Regions from separate parts of the Homo sapiens genome. Here all the other regions are linked to region 1. Evidence: promoter capture Hi-C in human tissues and cell types (Jung and others, 2019). All regions are on one chromosome and are shown on one strand. The core of a region is centred on a gene start or on the middle of the fragment in contact, and the rest is flanking DNA. Distances in the headings are between cores, read along the strand shown. Region 1 holds the start of SNRPD1 (small nuclear ribonucleoprotein D1 polypeptide). Region 2 has its middle 22 kb from the start of ROCK1. Region 3 holds the start of GREB1L (GREB1 like retinoic acid receptor coactivator). Region 4 overlaps GREB1L (GREB1 like retinoic acid receptor coactivator). Region 5 has its middle 43 kb from the start of MIR133A1HG.

Evidence for each region. Contacts are between HindIII fragments. The study calls those that stand out against the background at their distance.
Region 2: a contact is called between a fragment that was not itself captured here and the fragment with the promoter of SNRPD1 in region 1, in 2 of the 25 tissues and cell types used here (dorsolateral prefrontal cortex and spleen).
Region 3: a contact is called between the fragment with the promoter of GREB1L here and the fragment with the promoter of SNRPD1 in region 1, in 1 of the 25 tissues and cell types used here (thymus).
Region 4: a fragment that was not itself captured here is called in contact with the fragment with the promoter of SNRPD1 in region 1 in 3 of the 25 tissues and cell types used here (hippocampus, mesenchymal stem cells and mesendoderm cells).
Region 5: a fragment that was not itself captured here is called in contact with the fragment with the promoter of SNRPD1 in region 1 in 3 of the 25 tissues and cell types used here (hippocampus, lymphoblastoid cells and spleen).

What each region holds. Positions count from the first base shown.
Region 1 is chr18:21,611,057-21,613,583 of GRCh38, forward strand. SNRPD1 (small nuclear ribonucleoprotein D1 polypeptide) reads left to right here and starts at 1,258. Exons shown (of 4, transcript NM_006938.4): 1 at 1,258-1,387. The coding sequence starts at 1,374. RefSeq lists a silencer at 1,007-1,056 and an enhancer at 1,317-1,406. The HindIII fragment of the contact is 13,798 bases long and covers 1-2,527 here.
Region 2 is chr18:21,132,104-21,134,630 of GRCh38, forward strand. No RefSeq gene overlaps it. Among named protein-coding and RNA genes, the nearest start is that of ROCK1, 22 kb to the left of the region's middle. RefSeq lists an enhancer at 1-70. The HindIII fragment of the contact is 6,202 bases long and covers 1-2,527 here.
Region 3 is chr18:21,240,966-21,243,492 of GRCh38, forward strand. GREB1L (GREB1 like retinoic acid receptor coactivator) reads left to right here and starts at 1,267. Exons shown (of 33, transcript NM_001142966.3): 1 at 1,267-1,428. It overlaps GREB1L-DT (GREB1L divergent transcript), which reads right to left and starts at 1,763. Exons shown (of 3, transcript NR_183513.1): 1 at 1,645-1,763; 2 at 312-370; 3 at 1-42. The HindIII fragment of the contact is 24,686 bases long and covers 1-2,527 here.
Region 4 is chr18:21,261,653-21,264,179 of GRCh38, forward strand. The region is part of intron 1 of GREB1L (GREB1 like retinoic acid receptor coactivator); the gene reads left to right. Among named protein-coding and RNA genes, the nearest start is that of GREB1L-DT, 20 kb to the left of the region's middle. RefSeq lists an enhancer at 1,274-1,801. The HindIII fragment of the contact is 6,154 bases long and covers 1-2,527 here.
Region 5 is chr18:21,873,498-21,876,024 of GRCh38, forward strand. No RefSeq gene overlaps it. Among named protein-coding and RNA genes, the nearest start is that of MIR133A1HG, 43 kb to the left of the region's middle. The HindIII fragment of the contact is 6,212 bases long and covers 1-2,527 here.

The DNA.
Region 1 (2,527 bases), core at 8-2,507:
TACGTACGTACATACATACATACATAAAAAGACGATAATTAGCGGGCCATGGTGATGCGCGCCTGTAATCTCAGTTACTGGAGAGGCTGAGGCACGAGAATGGCTTGAAACCGGGAGGCAAGGGTTGCAGTGAGCTGAGATCGCGCTACTGCACTCCGGCCTGGGCGACAGAGTGAGACTCCATCTCAAAAAAATAAAAAATATATATATTTTGATGAGATGTTGAGAAAGATGAAGACTGAAAAGTTTGTCTTATAGATTGGAACTTAAAGTGAAAATAATCTGCTACATTGTGGATTTTATTTTTATTATTATTATTTTTTGAGACGGAGTCTCGCTCTGTTGCCAGGCTGGAGTGCAGTGGCACGATCTCAGCTCACTGCAACCTCCACCTCCTGGGTTCAAGCGATTCTCCTGCCTCAGCCTCCCGAATAGCTGGGACTACAGGCGCGCATCACCACGCCCCGCTAATTTTTGTATTTTTAGTAGAGGCGGGGTTTCACCATGTTGGCCAGAATGGTCTCGATCTCTTGACCTCGCTATCTGCCCGCCTCGGCCTCCCAAAGTGCTGGAATTACAGGCTTGAGCCACAGCGCCTGGCCCATTGTGTGATTTGCTTCAGGTACAGTAAGCAATGCTAGGTTCCTGGTGTTGGAACAGAATCAGCATAAGACTTTGGGCTTCTCTAAGACCTTCTTTCCGTTCAGTGAGGAATTTGTATTAGGTGCTGCACTCACAGTGCCCTGCTGTTCAGAAACGTGATGGTGACAGTACTTTTTTTTTTTTTTTTTTTTTTTGGGAGACGGAGTTTCGTTCTTGTTGCCCAGGCAGGAGTGTAGTGGTGCGATCTCCGCTCACTGCAGCCTCCGCCTCCCGGGTTCAAGCGATTCCCCTGCCTCAGCCTTCCGAGTAGCTGGGATTACATGCGCCCGCCACCACGCCCAGCTAATTTTTTGTCTTTTTAGTAGAGACGGGGGTTTCACCCTGTTGGCCAGGCTGGTCTTGAACTCCTGACCTCAGGTGATACCCCCGCTTCGGCCTCCCAAAATGCGACAGTCCTATTAATTGGATTTAATCTCTTCGAATCTCCCTCTCTTGTAGGACATTTTTCTCCAAGACCAGCCCTCGATACCCTCAGCCGTCGCAAGGCAACCTCCAGCCGCCAGGGGCCGCAGTCGCGCTCCTCGCGGCCGGAAGAGAGTGCGGCCCAGCGCAGCCTCGGCGTTTCCGCCATGCGCCTGCAGTGCTCCGCGCGCTCTTGACGTCCGGAGCCCCTGGAGTAGGCGCTTCCGGCCATTCATACTGCAGTCGGTCAGTGTTCGGTTGAAGGATTCTGTGTGCTGTCGGACCCAGAGGGTGACGGCGCCGCTAGGATGAAGCTCGTGAGGTGAGGGAGTGACCAAGCAGCTCTGGGGGCTGTGAAGGGAGGGCTTGGCCCGGAGTCCGGAAGGCTGGGCTCTCCCATTTGCAGGAGGCGGGAAAGCCGCGTGTGCGCGGCCTGCTAACGGCCGGCCTTACTGCGCCCGCAGCTCGTGCTCGGGCCTGGGCTTCCGCCTGGGTCGCTCGCGGATCCCGCGTGTCTTCCAAGAGATTGGTATAAAGGCCGAGCCTTTTCTTCCTGCCTAGTGACTTAGAGGCTTTAAAGATGCAGCGCCTCCTGGGACACATCTCCCTCTTACAGTTACTCATTTTCTTTTTGAGTGGAACTCCCCAGTCCTGCTTAACAGTACTTAGAAAGCTGTATGAGCTTATCTGGAAACAAACCTGTTTGCAAAATATTTTAAATCAGAGAAGGACTTCCGGCTTCACAAGTTTTTGTTTTTTTAAATAAAGATGGTGTCTCACTTTGTTGACCAGGCTGGTCTCGAACTCCTGGGCTCAAGCTTTCTGCCCGCCTCGCCCTTCCAAAGGGCTGAGATTACAGGTTTGAGCCACCGTGCCCGGCCGATTTTTAAGTTTACCTTTTTATCCTCCTTAGATTTGTGATTGATTATTCCACCTCTATTTCCCTTTAAGGTAGGCTTTTTATTTAGGAAAATCTCCCAATATAGGGCAGAAATTATCACAACGTAATTGTGGCTGATTACTCAGATAATATATAGTTCTCCTGTTTTATTTCTTAAGAAATAAATAGACCCTGTCAGTTAGGTGAGTCTTCTGAAAACTTGTTTGCTGATGTGAATAATTCTAAACTACCTGCAAGTAGATTTGGTTTTGGTGTTTTTCCTTGAGACTAAGCCTGGAACAGAGGCAGACGTTTCTAATAGCTAAGCCAGCAATTATAAATATTTAGCTTGTTTTTTTCCTGTTGAGTCAAGGATTGTCAATATCCGCTAAATAGTTATTGGGCACCTGTTACATACTAGGCGCTGGTAATAGGATTTTTTAAAAGGCAGAGTACCTGCCTTGTTGGAGTTTTCTGGTTAGTGGGGATGACAGACAAGTAGATAACGTCTGAAGTAACGTTTGTTTGAAACGTTTTAAATAACACATAAAAGCCTTCAACACTCAGGGAGGAGGCCAGGCG
Region 2 (2,527 bases), core at 16-2,515, 480 kb before region 1:
CAAGGTGCTGATTGGTGCGTTTAGAATCCCTTAGCTAGACATAAAGGTTCTCCAAGTCCCCACCAGATCAGCTAGACACAGAGCACCCACAGATTGGTGCATTTACAAACCTTGAGCTAGACGCAGGGTGCTGATTGGTGCATTTACAAACCTTGCGCTAGATACAGAGTGCCGATTGGTGTATTCACAGTCCCTTAGCTAGACATAAAGATTCTCCAAGTGTCCACCAGATTAGCTAGATACAGAGTGCCATTGATGCATCCACAAATCCGGAGCTAGGCACAGTGTGCTGATTGGTGTGTTGACAATCCCTTAGCTAGACCTAAAGGTTCTCCAAGTCCCCACTAGACTCAGGAGCCCTGCTGGCTTCATCCAGTGGATCCCGCACTGGGCCGCAGGTGGAGCTGCCTGCCAGTCCTGGGCCGTGGCCTGCACTCCTCAGCCCTTGGGCGGTGGATGGGATCGGGCGCTGTGGAGCAGGGAGTGGCACTCGCTCAGGGAGGCTCGGGCTGCGCAGGAGCCCACATCCCGAGCCCTGCCCCGCGGGGAGGCAGCTAAGGCCCGGCGAGAAATCGAGCGCAGGCACTGCTGGGGGACCCAGTGCACCCTCCGCAGCTGCTGGCCCCACTGCCCAGGGCCGCTCTGAGTGCAGGGCCCGCCAAGCCCACGCCCATCCGGAACTCTAGCTGGCCTGCAAGCGCCACACGCAGCCCTGGTTCCCACCCGCTCCTCTCCCTCCACACCTCCCGGCAAGCTGAGGGAGCCGGCTCTGGCCTCAACCAGCCCAGAGGGGGGCCCCCACAGCGCAGTGGCAGGCTGAAGGGCTCCTGGAGCATGGCCAGAGTGGTCTCAGAGGCCAAGGAGGTGCCAAGAGTGAGCGAGGGCTGCGAGGGCTGCCAGCACGCTGTCCCCTCTGAATGCCAGGCTAATTTTTTGTATTTGTAGTAGAGACGGGGTTTCACGTGTTAGCCAGGATGGTCTCGATATCCTGACCTTGTGATCTGCCCGCCTCAGCCTCCCAAAGTGCTGGGATTACAGGTGTGAGTCACCGTGCCTGGCCGTGACCAGTTCTTAAGAGAACAGACAGTTAGCAAAGGTCAACCCCAAGATGACACACCTGGTGACATTGTCAAATAAAGACTTTAAAATAGATACTATAAGCTTCATGAGGTAAAGGAAAACACATGTTAAGTAAAGTAAGTGGAAAGATCATTAAAAAAGAAAATAGAAAATTTAGTATTGAAACATACAATATCTGAAATTTAAAATTTACTGGATGGGGCCGGATATGGTGGCTCACACCTGTAATCCCGGCTCTTTGGGAGGCTGAGGCAAGCGTATGTATCACTTGAGGTCAGGAGTTCAAAACCAGCCTGGGCAACATGGTCTCTACCAAAAATACAAAAAATTAGCTAGGCATGGTGACACGTAACTGTGGTCCCAGCTACTCAGGTGGCTGAGGTGGGAAGATCACTTGAGCCTGGGAGGTGGAAGTTGCAGTGAGTCAAGATTGTGCCACTGCATTCCAGCCTGGGTAACAGAGTGAGACCCTGTCTCAAAATAAATACATACGTAAAATAAAATTTACTGGATGGGTTCAATAGCAGAATGAAGATGACAGAGAAAAGAGTAAGTGAACCTAAAGACAGATTAATAGAAGTTATCCAATTTGAAGAACAAAGAGAAAAAAGATCGGAAAAAAACTGAATAGAACTTCAGGGACTCATGGGACTATATCAAAAGTCTAACACTGATAACACTGGAGTCCTATAAAGATATTGGTATGGAAAAAAACATTTGAAGATAATGACTGAAAACTTCCCAAACTTGGAGAAAAAGACATCAACTTGCAGATTTAAGAAGTTCAGCGAACCCAAAATAGAATAAACTCAGAGAAAAGCGCACCCAAACACATTATAATCAAACTACTAAACACTAAATGTAATGAAAAAAATCTTAAAAGCAGCTAAGGAAAAATGACACATTATATACAGGAGAACGATGATGTTAACAATGATGTTGGACTTCTCATCAGAAACCACAGAAGCCAGAAGACAGTGGAATAACATCTGTAAAATTATGACAAAACTGTCAAGCCAGCACTCCACATCCAGCAAAAATATCCTCAGGCATGAAGGAGAAACAAAGATATTCTCAGATGAAGGAAAACTAAGAAAACTCATAGCTAACTAAAAGAAATGTGCAAGGAAGTTCTTCAGACTGAAGCAAAATAATACTAGGTGAAACCTGGAACTTTAGGAATGAATGAAGAACAACACGAACAGTAAATAGCTGGGTAAATCTAAAAGATTGTTTGCCTTTTTCTTCCTATTTAGTTCTTTAAAATATGTATAATTTTTTGTTGTTGTTTTTTGTTTTTTGTTGTTTGTTATTGTTGTTGTTGTTTGAGATGGAGTCTCACTCTTGTCATCCAGGCTGGAGTGTAGTGGCGTGATCTCAGCTCGCTGCAACCTTGGTTCAAGCGATTCTCCTGCCACAACCTCCCATGTAGCTGGGATTACAGGCA
Region 3 (2,527 bases), core at 17-2,516, 370 kb before region 1:
CTTGTTATTTTCCGGTGATTCCAAACTTCCAGTCCATTCCCTCTGCATGGATCAAAAGTGACAGGAAAGAAAAAAATGTATTTCGGATATGGCAAAAAAGAAAAATGCAAGACAAGCAAACAAAAGTACTGGGACATCGTATGAGAACTAGTTTAATTGACAATGTCTTTAAATGGTACCTATCACTTGACAATGATTCCAACCCACCCGGGCCTGGGCGCCGCGGCTGCCTCCCCACTCCCACGCACACGGGGAGCTCCCCCGGGCTGTACTGCACTAAAGGCACTCAAAATACATCAGCCTTTCCTTACCTCGATTCTTCCACCACATCCAGCATGGAGCTGCTGCTTCCAGAGATGTAGTCGCCTATCTGTGGCAACAATTAGTTTTAAAAATGGAGCCGCATCTCTAATAACAAAAGCCTCCAGCTGTGAAAAGTGGAGCTAAATCTCTCTACCGGGCCGCAGCATCTCTCAAGAACCTTTTCCCCGCAGCACCCGTCAAGGCCCAGGGCCAGCTGGACGCGGCTGCCCTGGGGTGGAGCCGTCCCCGTGGTCCCGGGAGGCTACCGACGAGCCGGGGCCCGGGGCCGGAGGGCGTGCTCCTCCGGGAGGTGCAAAAGTCGGCTTGGGCCCGGAGCTCCCGGGTTTGTTTGGTTTTGTCCGCGCCCTGCCCCCACCCTACCCCCTTCATGCAAAAGGCCAAGGGTTTCCGAGCCACCACTGCCCAGGCCGAGTTCACGCTTGGGGCTCTTCAGCCGCCGTCCAGTGAACAGAGAAAGCAATTGCGCAGAGGCGAGAGCAGGCTGAATGAACGCGGGCTCCAGGGGAAATAATTTTTCCTCCTGGCTTCGCGCGTCAGCACACTGGGGTGCAGCCCTCCCTCACAGAAGACCCCCCCCCCGCACGACCCCCTGTACACCCCCGCGGGGCTGCGCGTTCGTCTGTGCGGCGGGGTTTGGGAATGGAGGCGTGAGGACCGCGCATCGAGGGCTCCACAGGCTGGGCGGGGGGCGTCGTTGGAGGGGGGTAGGGGAGAAATGCGCGCCCACCACCCTCACAGAGGGCGAGGGACCCCCAAAAGCCACTCGCGGACGCCGAGGCAGCGGGAAGGCGCGAGGCGGGGCGGGGGGAGGGGGCGCGGGGGTCCCCGCTGCGGAGGCCAGGGCGGGCGGGAGGGGCAGCACCTGAGGAATCCGCCTCCGGCTGCGGCGGCCGCCGCCTCGCTCCGCCCCGGGGAACTGAGCGCGCGGACCGCGCGCCTGCCAGAGAGACGCCAGCCGCCGGCGGCGCTAGCACCTCGGAGTCGGGCGGCCGGAGCAGCGGAGCGCAGCGCGGCGCAGGGAACGGCACTGGGGGTGGGGAGACCAGCCCGGCCGAGCCGAGGGCCACCCCCTGGTCCTCTGCCCTCGCGCCCCGCTAGGGCCAGGTGAGCGGCCGCGGGGACTCCGGGGCGCGGGCAGGAGGTGAGAGGTCGCGAACCGGGCGCGGGAGCTCGCCTGTGACCGGCAGGAGCTGCCCTTTGGCGGGCTGGACGCCCTGGCCGCGCGGGGAAGCGCCGCAGCGGACTTTTCCGGAGGGATGGGAAGCTCAGCGGGGGTGTGAGCGGAGCGCGTGCGGGTGGCGAGGGAGCGCCAGTGCCAACCTGGGAGCCGTGCCTGCCTTCCCTGCCGCCTCGCGTCGCCCACCGAAGGGACCCGGCCGTGCTGTCCGCGCCCAGAGGCCGAAGGCCTGTCACCGGGCTCTACTCGCTGCCTTTGTGGCGGGAGCGAGACGGCCCGGGGGTGGGACGAGGGAGCTGCGGCGCGCCGAGTAGCGCGGGGTCCCCCGGCGGAGGCGGCGAGGGGGCACCTGGTTCGTCTCCCCGAGCCCAGGGGCAGTGAGGGGGTGCCGGGCAGGCGGGCGGGCGACAGGTAGGGCGCCGCGGAGGTGGCGGGGAGAGGATGGATGGAGTTCAGCCTGGGAAAGTTGAGAACGTCCAGAGGTGGCTGGGCGCTCGCTCGGCGTCTGTGGGTTTTTTTCCTCAACACCAAATGTCACTTCGTCACGAGCGGGCGCGCGTGTCTTCCGGCCAGCATGTCCATTTTTCTGTGCATGGCTGAGGACCACTCTTATTCCGAATGAGACACAAAGAGTTGTGTTGACAGCTGACCCTGACACAAGCAGACAGCGAGTGAGGTGCGCCCTGGCCGGGGAGGGTGAGGGAGACTCGTTAAAGGAAATCCATTCCCGCCGTCCCTCTTCCCAGCTCCATTAAGAGGAAACTCCATGTGGAGATTCAGTGCGTGGGGTTTCTCAGTTACATGAGTCCAAGGAACGTCCCCGAACGCGACTCGTTTGCCCGGAACTGCCGCTGCCTCTAACCGAGGCTGCGGGTCCTGGAGAAACTCCTCAGTCTTGCCCCTTTCTCCGGTGAACGTGACGGTTCCAAGGTCCTTATCCTCCCCACCCACTCCTCTGGCCCCGGCTGAGAGGATAGAAACCACATTTTAATTTCTGCTTTTCACACCGTAAGGTGTTTTTTTCCG
Region 4 (2,527 bases), core at 9-2,508, 350 kb before region 1:
TGTAGCATGCCAATAAAATTTACTCCTGCATTGACATTTCCAAAGTAATTATAAAAAGGATTATAAAATTTACTAAAGGAATTGCTATTTGTTGGTTGACAAAATTTACTTAAGCCACATAAATGTAAATATTTCTCAAGCAACCCCTATAGAGTCAAGGGTTGCCATCAAAGAAAAGACTTTTGTTTATTCTAAATACCTTTATTTTATTTTAATTTTTTATTTTCTAAATACCTTTATTTTATAAAGCTAGGAAAAGTAAAAGTGTTTTGAACATTTTGAGGTCTTAGATTTTTACTTATGCCATTCTTTAATATACATGTTTCCATGATTTAAGTATGACATAATTCTGTATGATTTGCTTTAAATTAATAGTTATTGGTTAGAATTTAAAATTGAGTTTTATAGTAACCAGTAAGGATGCAAATTGTGTATTTATAGCAGTATACTAATTTACAGATTCTATGACACACGGTCAGACACACTGGTTTTTATGAAAATCCACTAGCATTTTTCTCCTGTTTACTCCGTGATTCCAGAATAATATGTAGGGGTGATTTCCTTGAGAACAGGAGTTATTGGCATCATTCTTAGGGGTAGTAACTACCTCTCCTTTCAAACACAGATCTTTTTTTTTGCTCCTTCTCCAACTTCCTTGCCATTCCTCTTAACTTCTGAGGCTTGGAGAAAGTGAACTTTAAAAACTAGAATTCTTTCTCTGTTTTGAATGACAGACCTTATGGGGTTACTTATGTGGTTGGGCTTTTCCCATCCCAGATGGAGTATGTGAATACTTTATAAAATTTTTTATAAGATTACGTGCTTAGAGATACTTTTGCTCCGTTACACTTCTGCTTTCCCAAACAGTTGTTTCTGTTATTTCACACAGAAAGCAATGTTCTACCTCATTTGGATCAAAGCCCAGTTAGTTTAAGACAGATATTTTGTAACAAAAATTTTATGTTTCTTAACATGATTTGGAAGTTAGTATTAATCATTATTCTAATTACTTGTATTAGTAGTTTGTCATTGTAATTGTACAAAGTGTTTCTAGGTTACAAAACCTAGAAGTTCTTAGCAAGGCGGTGGGCCAGTGATATCAACCCATGGAAATGGCCATGATAAAGCAGTTTTCTCTGGGTTCATTTCTAGTTTGTGTCATGGTTTGAGAAAAACAGTAGATGAGAACAAGTTAGTATGAATATTTTTAATCATTTCGTCTGCTAAAACTTCATGCCATGCCTAAGAAACGATGGGCTTACAGGGGTATTTTCAAGAATTGCTTTATAGATCTTCCTCATTAAACATTTTATAAGGACATTCTGCTTTAACAAATTACATGGTGTTGAGGTGGGGAGTATATGTAATTGTAAAAGGTTTATACCCCACATGCAGATTATTACCTGGTGACTGAAAGTGCTGCCTGCATCTTTTTTTGCAGTGCCAGGGAAGGTGGGGGATGGGGAGAATGAAACTTGAATCAGTGGCCATCTGGCCCAGATTTGGCTGATTTCCTGTGCACTGCCCTTTGTTTCAGCCAGACAATGGATTGTTCCTTGAAAAGATAAGAACTCCATTGATGACTTTGTGCTGAATCAGCACGTTTGGTTTGGGATTGCAAGCACAGACTCATATTGAAGGGTTTTCACTTGTTGGTAGGTCACTATCCTTGTCTTCGTCCATTACAAAAATAGCCTTAAGGTTGTTTTCTGTAGTTTCTGTGCTGAGATTACAGAAAAATTGAATAAAATAATTGGACATGTAGTTTTCTAGTTGTGTATTACCTGTCTTAAACATTGAAATCTCCTTGTCTTTAGTTTCCAGAATTCATATCTCCCTGGTTGTGATTTTTGATAAATCTTTATATAGAATCTTTTCTTAAGTCTCAACTTGAATTTTCCATTTGAATTTTCAATGACTTAAGTTTAATGTTGTCCTAAATCTAAGTTAGACTTTTATGATATGGTTATGTAAATGGTAAATTTTCTGTGATATCTGTTGTCATATATCTGCAAATTACATTTTAGGGTGGTAGAGCTACTCCTTACTTTAAATGCTACCTACTCACTGTGACACTGTTTAATAAATGGTTATTGACTAGAGAAGTAGGGATCTCTGTCACCTAGCATTCTAAGTCAGTCAGTCATCAGTTTTTGTAGGTTATCTCAGAAGCAATAGAGATCAGAGAGTAGTTAAGTGTCATTTTTCATAAGACAAGAACAACCTTCACTGCTACCATTTTGTTGTATGACCAAGAAATACAAAAACAATCATTTTCACTTCTGAAGTTATAGGAAGATTGTTGGCAGATTTTGTCTACCTTTTAGTTTAATTCTCATCTCTTTACAGTTGAATTGCCTTGTGACTCCCCAGTGCAGAATTTTCTCTGAAACCACTGATAACTTCAAAATCAAGCATCTGATCAAAATAAACTGCTTTGAGATCTAACCTATAATTCATTTGTGTAGATAAAGGTATGTTGTTTAGGTAGAATCAAAGGGCCTGATCACAAGAAAAAAGCTTAATT
Region 5 (2,527 bases), core at 20-2,519, 260 kb after region 1:
GTCTCAAAAATAAAAAGAAAAAACAAAAAAAAATTTTACCAGAGATAAAATTAACCACAAAGAAAGGAAGAAAGGAAGAGAGGAGTTAGTTATAAAACAACCAGAAAACAAAGAACAAAATGGCAATAGTAAGTTCTTATCAATAATAACATGGAATGCAAATGGACTAAATTTCCCAAAGAAAAGACAAACCAAACTCAAAATTTGTAGAAGGAAGGAAGTAATAAAGATCAGCACAGAAATAAATGAAATTGGGACTAGGAAAGAAACAAAGTTGAATAAAATGAAAAGTTGTTTTTTTGAAAAGATAAAATTGACTGACTTTTAGCTAGACTAAAAAAAGAGAAGACCCAAATAATATCAGAAATGAGAAAGGTAACATAACATCTGATACCACATAAATGCAAAGGATCATTGGAGAATATTATGAATAATGATATGCCAATAAATTGGAAAACCTAGAAGAAATGGGTAAATTCCTGGACACATACACCCTACCGAGATTGAGCCACGAAGAAGTAGAAAACCTGAACAGACCAGTAACAAGTAATGAGATTGAAACCCCAATAAAGTCTCCAATCAAAGAAAAGCCCAAGGACCTGATTGCTTCACTGGTGGATTCTACCAAACGTTCAAAAGAAGTATTAATACCAATTAAACTCCTCCAAAAATTGAAAAGGAGGGAATACTTCCAAACAAATTCTATCAGGCTAGCATTACCTTGTGTATTAGTTCATTCTCACGCTGCTATGAAGAAATACCCAAGACCGGGTAATTTATAAAGAAAAGAGGTTTAATTGACTCACAGTTCCACATGGCTGGGGAGGCCTCGGGAAACTTGCAATCATGGCAGAAGGCACCCCTTCACAGGGTGGCAGGAGAGATAATGAATGCCGAGCAAAGGGGGAAGCCCCTTATAAAATCATCAGCTCTCATGAGAACTCACTATCATGAGAACAGCATGGCAGAAACTGCCCCCATGACTCAATTATCTCCACCTGGTTCTGCCCTTGACACATGGGGATTATTACAACTCAAGGTGAGATTTGGGTGGGGTCACAGAGCCAAACAATATCACCCTGATACCCAAACCAGACAAGGACACAATAAAAAAAAGAAAACTGCAGGCCATTATCCCTTATGGACATAGATGCAAAAATCCTCAACAAAATATTACAAAATACAACAACACATTAAAAAGATCATTCGCCATGGTCAAGTGGGATTCATCCCAGGGATGCAAAGATGGTTCAACATATGTGTCATGCCAGACCCCTACTGACTCCAAAAGAGATGGCATTGTGTCTGAGAGGCCCAGAAGAGACCTGGAGCCAGTAAACGAGACAGGGTTTACAGAGGACTTACATACAAGGCAGTCCAGAGGTGACAGGGTGGACAGGAGCACTGCTACTGTTTGTAAAAAGCATGCAGTTTATATGGCATTTTCACGTAGCAACACCAACCTAGCAAACTTCATTTAACCAAGAAAAGTGGCCTCGTTTCCTTGCACATCCTATGTTTCAAGGAATGGGCAGAGGGGTTCAACGTCCTTCATAAGAAGTGAATCTCCAGATTAGCCACTACTGGATTCCTTAGCATGGAACTCTGAGCACACATTCTTCTTAGACCATAGGGTCATTCTCAGGGTATGCTTAAGTTACTGCTGTCAGGTGCATCTGCCATACAATACACAAGTCAATAAACATGATACATCTCATTAACAGAATCAAGGATAAAAACCATGTGATTATTTTAATAGATGCTGAAAAAGCATTTGATAAAATTTAACATCCCTTTATGATGGGTATTAAAGGAGCATACCTCAAAATAATAAAAGGCCATCTATGACAAACCCATGGCTAAACATTGTACTAAATGGAGAAAAATTAAAGGCTGAGCAATTAGGCAAGAGAAATAAATAAAGGGCATCCAAATTGGAAAGGAAGACATCAAATTAGCCTTGTTCACAGGCGACATGATCTTATACCTAGAAAAACCTAAAATCTTCACCAAAATATGTTAGAACTGATAAATGAATTCAGTAAAGTTGCAGAATACAAAACCTACATACAAAAATCAGTAGCATTTCTATATGCCAACAGCAAACAACCTGGAAAATCAAAAAAGTAATCCTATTTACAACAGCTACAAAAAAATATAAAATACCTAAGAATCAATCTAACAAAAGTAGTGAAAGATCTATACAAGGAAAACTGTAAAACTGATGAAAGAAATAGAAAAGGACACACATACACACACACAAATGGGAAAACATTCCATGCTCATGGGTTGGAAGAATTAATATTTTTAAAGTGACCATAGTACCTAAAGCAATTTACAGATCCGATGCCATTTCTTTCAAAACATGAATAACATTCTTCACAGAAATAGAAAAACAATCCTAAAATGTATATGAAACTACGAAAGACCAAATAGCCAAAGAAATCCTGAACAGAAAGAGCAAAGCTGGAGACATCACACTACCTGGCTTCAAAATTTATTACAAAGCTATAGTAATCAAAACAGT